3 separate regions of the Homo sapiens genome follow, and all the other regions are linked to region 1. Evidence: promoter capture Hi-C in 16 types of primary human blood cells and fetal thymus (Javierre and others, 2016). All regions are on one chromosome and are shown on one strand. Each heading gives the region's core, a stretch centred on a gene start or on the middle of the fragment in contact. The rest is flanking DNA. Distances are from core to core; before and after follow the strand shown.

Region 1 (2,730 bases), core at 110-2,609:
AGGCGATTTCCCCGGATTGTTCGTACGGGCGAAGCCCATTTCCCACCCGAAAAAACTTCCCAAACACGTCTACCTGGGTGGACTTTTAAAAGTGCAAAAAAGAGTTTTCGTTCCAACTCTAAGCTAGGCGAATCTTTTAAATGGCACCTCCTCCTGAAAATTAGGCACTTTATTCCCTTTCGAGGAATTTCTACCCCTTGTTTCTAATCTCCCCCACTCCCCCACCCCGACAGGCGGGGTAAAAAGTTTGCACAGGATTAAGTGTGAGGGCAAGTCAAGGAGCCTCCAGGCGCATCGCAGTGGGGAGCACTCGCGCTGCCCGGGCTGCGGGGTCGGGCGCCGAGAGCGGACCGGGCGCTGGGTGAGGAGGAGGAGAACGAAGGGGGAGCCCGCTGAGTGAAAAGGGGCCGCGGCCGCCGCTCATCAAAGTGCTTCCCCCTCCCCCAAGCGACACTTTCCTTTGGAGTCCGAATAAAATACGGTAACAGAATATGATGGAGGGCACACTGTTTCCTTAACTGCTTCTCAAAGGACCCGGGAGATCTTCTTAGGACCTTTAATAAGGCTTTGGTCGGTTCTTTTGTTGATCTCTCAAAATCAACTCCTTCTAATTGAAGTTGGAGCTGAAAGCGAGCTAATGTTCAAAGAAAGTGGCCGCCAGACCAACGAAATTACATTTTTTTTTTGACGATGAGGGAACATCTAATCAAAGAGGCAGGGGAGGAGGGGTGGGAGTGGGGGCGTACGAAGGAGAAAAGGAGGTTTTACAAGATCCTTCTCTGGTTCACAAAAGTCAGCGACACGGGCGCTTCTCTACAGAACAAAGACACCGCGGCCCATTCACAAAAGGGAGAGAAAGAGAGAAAGCTGAATAAAAGAACGAGAGAAATGGGGAAAAAATGAGAGAGAGAAGGAGGGAGAGAGTGAGTGAGAAAGAAGCTTTAAGAGGAAAAGAAACAGTGCAGAGCGCAGCGCTAACCCAGGCGGGGACACACCTTAGGCTCGCGCAGGCCCCTACCAGGAGTAGCCCGCGAGGCCCGCGGTCAGCCGCCCGCGGCTCGGAGCCACTGTGATCGTGCTGAGGTTTAAAGAAAGCAACGAAATATACCCCTTCCTTAGGTTCCGAGGAAAGGCGCCGGCTGGAGCGCACTAGTTTTGGGGGAAAGAATATGCGGACGTCCCGGGGTGCGCTTCGCCGGCGTCCGCGTCCATAGCCCGGCGCTGCCCTAGTCCCGGCCAGTCCGCTGTGTGCCGGGGTTGGCCCTCCAGTGCCGGGGCGCGTGACCTTGCCCCATTCCTCCACCTTAACTCATTCCTCCCTCCACCAGGCCCTGTTTCGCCTGCAGCCTCAGCACCTGACCTGGGTCCGGCGCAGCGAGGTGGGACGGCAGTGCGCTCTGGAATGTGCCAGCGCGGTCCCCGGGGTACGCCTCGCGGGAGGCCGGCGCTCTCGGTTCCAGATGCTGCCACCATTCTCGGGGAAGTTGGGAGGTATCAAGTAGCACGGATTTTTTTTTTCCTAATTAGAGTATTTATCTAATCCCAAATTGCAGGCGAATTTTCTTAACGCTCAGCCCATAAAACCCCAGGATTAAGAAAAGAAAGAGGAGAGGGGGAGAGGGAGGAGAGTGGAGAGGGAGAGAGACTGGGATGAAAGTTTCTTGAAAGCAGCGCAGAGGATTGAGGCGGCCGTCGCTAGGCAAATGTCCAGGTGGGAGATGCTGGGCCAGAAGCCATGACCGTTCCAGCATCGGCCGCGGTGCGGGAAGGGGAAGTGGGGACACCACTGGAGGAGGTGAAGCCGTCCAGCTCAAGGCCCTCGAGCCGGGAAGGGGCGAGGGAGCTGGGTGTGGAGACAAGGATCCAGCATCCAGGTGACCTCCAGGCCCGGCCAGGCTCTGGAGGACACTTGGGACAAGGGGAGGGCTTTGGATCTGAGGCCGAGGGATCTGACCAGGGGCGGAAGTTCTGCTCCGGCCCGCAGACTGTGCCCAAGCAAGCCCGCTGCCAACGCCCCTGCTCCTCTGCGACCCTCGGACCGATAGTCTCTTTTCCCGCAGCGCGGGCTTTCGAGTTCCGGGTCCTCCGGCGTGCTGGGCTCGTGCCCGTTCTCGGGAGCCAGCGTCTGGGCACCACGCAGCGATGTCCGGATGCAGCGCCCTTGCCGCGGGCCTTACCCCGCCAGGCGCCGGAGTCCACGCTCCACCGCCGCTGAGGGGCGTTCGGGCGCCACCGAGCAGCCCAAATTGAAACCCCGAGAGGCTCGGGACTAAAGCTGAAGGGGCAGGTAGAGGGGCCGCCCGGCGGTCCCAGACCATCCTAGCAAATCTGGGGCGAGGGAAGGGTTGTCAGTTGGCCGATTGGGAGCGGCTTCGGGAGCGAAGGAGCTGCTTTTCGGCGAGGCCCCTCGGGAGTGAAGGTTCCTCGAATCAAGCGTAAACTGGGTGGGTGCTGTTGGCCGCCCAGGCCCCAGGCTGCTTGGGGCGGGCGATTTCTGTCTGCTGAGTTTTCCCGGGGTTAGAACGGGATTCTGAGAGCGTTCCCCAGAGAGCAGCAGCTCTCTCTCTGCTCTCGTGCTCGAATAAAGAGGGCAAATACCGACTTCATTTACTTAAAATAACTTTTCAATAACTTAAAAGAAATGCTCATCATGAAGGAATTCTACCGTAGCAAGTTTTTATCATTTTGAAAGACTGGCAACTGGAGGTGGCTGCATACTTGGAACGAAAT
Region 2 (2,867 bases), core at 262-2,761, 270 kb after region 1:
CTTGAACTCCTGAGCTCAAGCAATACTTCCACCTCGGGCTCCCAAAGTGTTAAGATTCAGGCGTGTGCTACCAGGTCCAGCCATCTGCCTTGGAATTAACATAATTAATTTAGCCCATCGCCATTCACTTAAAAGTCTTCCGGAGGTAACATCAAACAAACAGCAATAAAAAAGGGACTAGTGGAGCCCTGGAGGAGCCGAACTTCCTATCTCATGGGTCACAGTCAGAAATAGTGGGAAAGACTGCATAGTGAATAGGTAGCACCAAGAAAACACATTTTGATACCCCACTGATCTTCACGGAGGACGAAGAACCAAGTTAATCTTATGCCTATTATTACATTCATTGGGTTAACAGTTACAAAACAAAAAGCAGATGTCTATTAATCTTTAATGGGGGAGCTCATGTTTTCTGTTGGTTTTGTTTTTCCTCTTTCAGTTACTTTTGCTATTTCTTTCCGCTACTTAGAATGCCTTTTTTGCCTAACTTCCTTTTTCCTTCAAGACTAAACTCTGTAGCCACTTCCTCCAGGAATTATTCCAACTCTGCCCTCCATTACTGTCCTGTAGTACCCTACGAACATTTTTATGTTTTTCCTTGCAGTTCTTTACCTCTCTGACACTTCACTACTTTATAAGCTTCTTGAGGACAGGTTATCTTATGTCATCAAATATAAGTTATCATTGGTTTAAAGATTATTTTATATAGCAGTCATTATTTTATATAGCAGTAAGAAAGCAAAACAAACAAACAAACAAAAAACTACCAGTTATAACTGTGGGACATCCTAGATATAAGATGATCCCAATTTCACAGAAAAAAATGTGGGAGAAAAAACCATGAATCTCAGAATCAAAATTCTGCATGTCTTAACTGACTTTGTATCTTCAATAACCACCAAATGTCTGGGCATATAGAAAATCCATATTAAAATATTGCAGAATGGTTGAATAAATTAATGAATGGATTCAATCTGATTGGTGCCTTTCATCAATATGCTTTTAATGTATTAAAATAAAACAGTGGAATCAGAAAAATAAATTTTTTTAGATTTTAAAAACCAACACCAGCTGGGTGTGGTAGCTCATGCCTGTAATCTCAACACTCTGGGAGGCCGAGGTGGGAGTACTGCTTGAGCTCAGCGGTTCAAAACAGCCTAGTCAACAAAGGGAGACTCCGTCTCTACAAAATAGAAAATTAGCAAGGTATAATGGTGTGCACCTGTAGTCTCAGCTACTGGGGAGGCTGAGGCAGGACGATCGCTTGAGCCCAGGAGTTCAAGGTTGCAGTGAGCCATGATCACAACACTGCACTCTAGCCTGGGTGACAGAGCAAGACCTTGTCTCAAATGTAAAAACAAGAAACTAAAACCTATGGATATAATTTACAAATGTAATGGTTCTGGATTTAATTGGGTAATCTAAAACACCAGGAAGAGAAAAAAAATTTTGTTTCCTAAATATAACTGTTGTGGCTTCATATTTTTAAAAAACCCTACAATGTCAACTGTCTGGATGAACAGATGTTATTCTATTACAGTAGATAAAAATGAAACATAGTGTTTTATAGTATCCATTCTTATCTACACTAATAAGTAAATGGATTGTAAATGATCCAAAAGAAATACTTGTTGTTAATCCTAGATTAAATTTATAAGGGGAAGATATCCTAAATCAAAAGATAAAAAGAAAAATATTTTAAGTTTAGTCCAAGTGAGATGTTACAAGTTGCCTTGTCATTGCTTTGAGATAACAGTAAAGTCTAGAAATCATTGAGAGGTGTAAGTGGTAGAAAGGAATGGAAAAACTAAAATCCTGCAACAATAAAATTTAGAAATCTAGTTTTCTTTCCTTTATATTCTTCTGTGTCCTCTAGAAAGGAACATTATAAAAATAGCTACTCCTTACCAAGCTAGATGCTTTACATACATTATTTCCAATCTTCAATAACCTGTGGAGTAGATATTAATACCATCATTTTATACATGACTACATGGAAGCTGTGAAATATTAAATGACTTATCTAAGGTTGCATAGCCAGTAAGTGGCAGAACCACCTCTAAAATTTCAACTCTAAAGTTTCTGGTCCAAAGAAGAAAGCTCAGACAAAACGGAGAAATCAGAAACAAGAGAACCAATAAAATGAAAATAGCATTATGTCAATTTGCACAAAGAAGCAGTAAGGTTGCCTTGAGAAAAAATATTAAGAATTCTAGTGACTGATAAATTCTAGAATTCCATTTTATAATGTCTAACAGTAGTGAAATAATTAACCCAAATAACTTCTAAACTGTATATAAACAATAATTAAAGACTACCTTCACTAATCTGATACATATATTCTTCACAGACTTACCACTACAGAAGACTGATTAAAAGCTTCCCTATGATTCTACAATTTCAAATGATCTCTTTTCATCTTTCTTATTAAGGTAGCTAGTTATTGCAGTAGGGGTTAAGGGCAAAGGCCCTGGAGAAAGACAAGACTGGATAAAATCCCAACCTGTTAGCTATATAACTGTGGGCAAGTTACTTAACCTCTCTAAACCTCACTTTCTTTACCTGTAAAATAGGGTTATATCTGACTCACACCAGAGTTATTATAATGAGCAAATGAGATAATGTGTATAAAGCATTCTATTATACATAGTACCTGGTACATAGTAAGGGTCCAATAAATTTGTTACAGTGATATATATTTGGAGACTTCTGTTTTATTGGGATATTTTATATTAAATATAACTTCACTCTTTGTTACTAATGCTACTACTGGACATTACGGTTAAAGTCTCAACATTTCTTTATTAACTGTGGGGTTGTAACACAATGTGCAAAGAAAAGAAAGGTATTACAATTCCATTCAAAGA
Region 3 (2,857 bases), core at 193-2,692, 450 kb before region 1:
GCAGGACCATAGCTCATTGCACTCTCCAACTCCTGGTCTTGAGCCATCCTCCTCTGTCAGCCTCCTGAGTAGCTAGGAGTACAGGCAGGTGCCACCACACCTGCCTAATTTTTATTTATTTTTTGTAGAGACAGGGTCTGACTATGTTGCCCAGGCTGATCTTGAACTCCTGACTTAGAGCAATCCTTCTACCTCGGCCTCCTAAAGTCCTTGGATTATAGATGTAAGCCTCTGCACCTGGCTTTCTCTCTTCATTTTTTGCACACTTTTAGGTTCTAAAGCTTGTTTTAAAAATAGGGACTTAGATAGTATTTTGAACATAATGCTTTGTGCTTTTTGCATTTTGCTTCTATTTAGTTGCTTAGTGTTTTTGGTAAATCTGAAATTTTATAATTAAAAATACTACCTTTGGTATTTATTGAATACTTGCAGTGGGTGCTCATTTTCAAATAAATATGTCCTGAATACTTACATTTAATATTTAGGTTGAAAAAGTGTCCTAGGCTTCTGAACTGATTTAGAACTTTATATGCCATGAGATGACAGTTGTAAAATAGATCTAGATACACATTCAATAATAAATTTAATATTAACATTAGAAGCTAAATGTCACTAAGGGAGCTAGAACATTTATTTGATAACTGCTATTTGCCTAAACTTAAAGGATAACATTTTTAGTATTATAGACAATTAGTTATGTAATACTCACTAATAATGCTCAGCACTTTTAATCTTCAAAGCATTATACACACTAGTTAATCCTTACAACACCGTTACAAATGTAGGTCAATATCATTATCCCTGTTTTTGCAGGTGGGGAAATTGAGGCAGAGGTTAAATGATTTGGAGTAAGTTTGTCATAGCAGGATTAGAATGAAGGCATTTTTGGCTTACAGCCCAGCATTCAGAACAGTAGAACCACACCTTTAGCAGACTTAACCTCTATGTACTTGATAAAACATTACTTCTCATTAAATCATATTGAGGTCATCTCTGCATTAAAATTCAGAACCAACAAGTTTGATCACTGTATAACCACTTTACACACACACACACACACACACACACACCCCCACACCATTTTCTCTTTCAAGGCTTTCTTGACACTATATTATCTTAGTCTGTCTTTTAAATTGACTCTTTATTGGAGAATTACCAGACTATCTATCTTTGACTTTATTTTTCTTCTGTGATCTTACTCAATGGCTTTACTCTCTATTTAGAAAATTCCAAAGTAGTTTTTATGTAGTCCAGGCCTCTCTTCTGTATTTCTAGCTACCAGCTAGACATATCTACCCAGAGCATTTCCTTGTACCTTTATCTCCCACTGAGTCTAAAATTCAACTTATTAACAAAACTTGCTCTTCTTCTAGACTAACCTGTTTCTATGTGTGTTTCAATCCAAGTCCTGCCCTTGAAACTAGGATCAACTAGGTGGGAACAAGTCTGGGTAAGGGGTTCCTGGGAACTTGATGTGGCCAAGAAGAACAGTATTCATGGGTCCTTTGACAGGATGAAGAAGTTGAATCACAGTTTAAGAAGAAGAGCCAGAGTTACAAACTGAGGGGCAAGGCAGAAGTAAAACAGGAGACCACGTAGCCAGGTTAGTAGCTAGGAACATTGATGTGTGTGGGTTCAGTAGTTGAGGCAGTCATTGTGAACAGATGGAATGCACTGGTACCCATTTACTGGGCACATGATGATGCAGGCATGCCTGTTCAGTGACGGCATGGTCAAGGCAAGGGTCACTATATGAGCAGTAACCAGATCCCCATCCATTGATGGTCACTCCAGATTCTTCTCTCTTACTCCCTTACACTGTCTCTTACAAATCATCAGTGCCCATATGCTGTCGATTCTTTCTTTACAAGATCACTTACATCCCTTTCTTTTGTTATATTCCAGCTGCCACCACCCCAATTCAGGTCCTTGTTACTGAATATTAGTGTTGTCTGTTCCTTTAATACCTTTCTAACAGGTCACTCATATCAAACTTTCCTTCACTCCTCCAATATTTTACCCACCAGTTAATCTTCCAACAATAATTCTGATCTATTAATTATTCTTTTTAAAAATACCTTCCCAGATCAGAAACTTCATTGTTCCTAATTAGCTACCTAGCAAATACAAAGTCCTAATTCCTGAGCTTGGCAAAGACTTCCTTATTATGGCTCTGATTTATCTCTTCTACCTGTGCATCAAACCAGATTGCTTATTATTCCTCAAATAAGCCTTGCATCTTTCTAATTTATTCTTTTGGGTATTGTTCCCTCCTTTTTATCTATTTCCCTCTAGCAAAATCTGACAATCCTCAAATGCCCTTTGAACCCCCCTAGCCCATTGTGTATGTTACCATATTAGCACTTACTACACACTTCGTATTGTTTTTGTGATTATTTTATCTGCTACCCTGATTATATGGTGTTTGATAGTAGAGGCCCATTCTATAAAACTTTGTATCTATGACTCAGTAAACATATACATAAAGTGCTCAAATTGTGATATTTAATTGGTATTTAGATCTCATAAGGCCCTGTGAGGTACAAATGAGCCATTGTTTCTAGTACTCCATTCTTTGGGTACAATAGGTTAGTCCAAGCTTGAGGTCTCCTTATTTACCTTAGGTTCTTTGCAGTCTTCTGCTCATATACCTCCATGTTAAATGTCTTATGGATGCCATGCTATCATTTATCCTTATTATAACTACAGCAATGTCTTCTATTTCTTAATTCTTTCTTTGCTATCATGTTTCACATTTGGGTTTTCTTTGCCCTCAAGCTTCCTGTCCTTCCCATGGCTACCAAAATAGCTGACTTAAGAAACCGGGGAACTGCATAGCATACTTTACCCGGGCAGA

What was found. The method cuts DNA at HindIII sites, captures the fragments that hold promoters and counts their contacts. A CHiCAGO score of 5 or more calls a contact.
Region 2: a fragment that was not itself captured here is called in contact with the fragment with the promoter of EHBP1-AS1 in region 1 in 1 of 17 cell types (megakaryocytes); the score reaches 7.0 in megakaryocytes.
Region 3: a contact is called between a fragment that was not itself captured here and the fragment with the promoter of EHBP1-AS1 in region 1, in 1 of 17 cell types (megakaryocytes). The highest score is 5.9, in megakaryocytes.

Annotation. Positions count from the first base shown.
Region 1 is chr2:63,047,150-63,049,879 of GRCh38, reverse strand. It overlaps EHBP1-AS1 (EHBP1 antisense RNA 1), which reads left to right and starts at 1,359. Exons shown (of 4, transcript NR_033389.1): 1 at 1,359-1,491. It also overlaps a transcript of OTX1 not described here. RefSeq lists enhancers at 1-548, 549-1,298, 1-1,320, 1,299-2,047. The HindIII fragment of the contact is 1,878 bases long and covers 942-2,730 here.
Region 2 is chr2:62,775,473-62,778,339 of GRCh38, reverse strand. All of the region lies in intron 5 of EHBP1 (EH domain binding protein 1), which reads right to left. Among named protein-coding and RNA genes, the nearest start is that of EHBP1, 71 kb to the right of the region's middle. The HindIII fragment of the contact is 1,740 bases long and covers 642-2,381 here.
Region 3 is chr2:63,498,668-63,501,524 of GRCh38, reverse strand. The region is part of intron 1 of WDPCP (WD repeat containing planar cell polarity effector); the gene reads left to right. Among named protein-coding and RNA genes, the nearest start is that of WDPCP, 88 kb to the left of the region's middle. The HindIII fragment of the contact is 2,318 bases long and covers 284-2,601 here.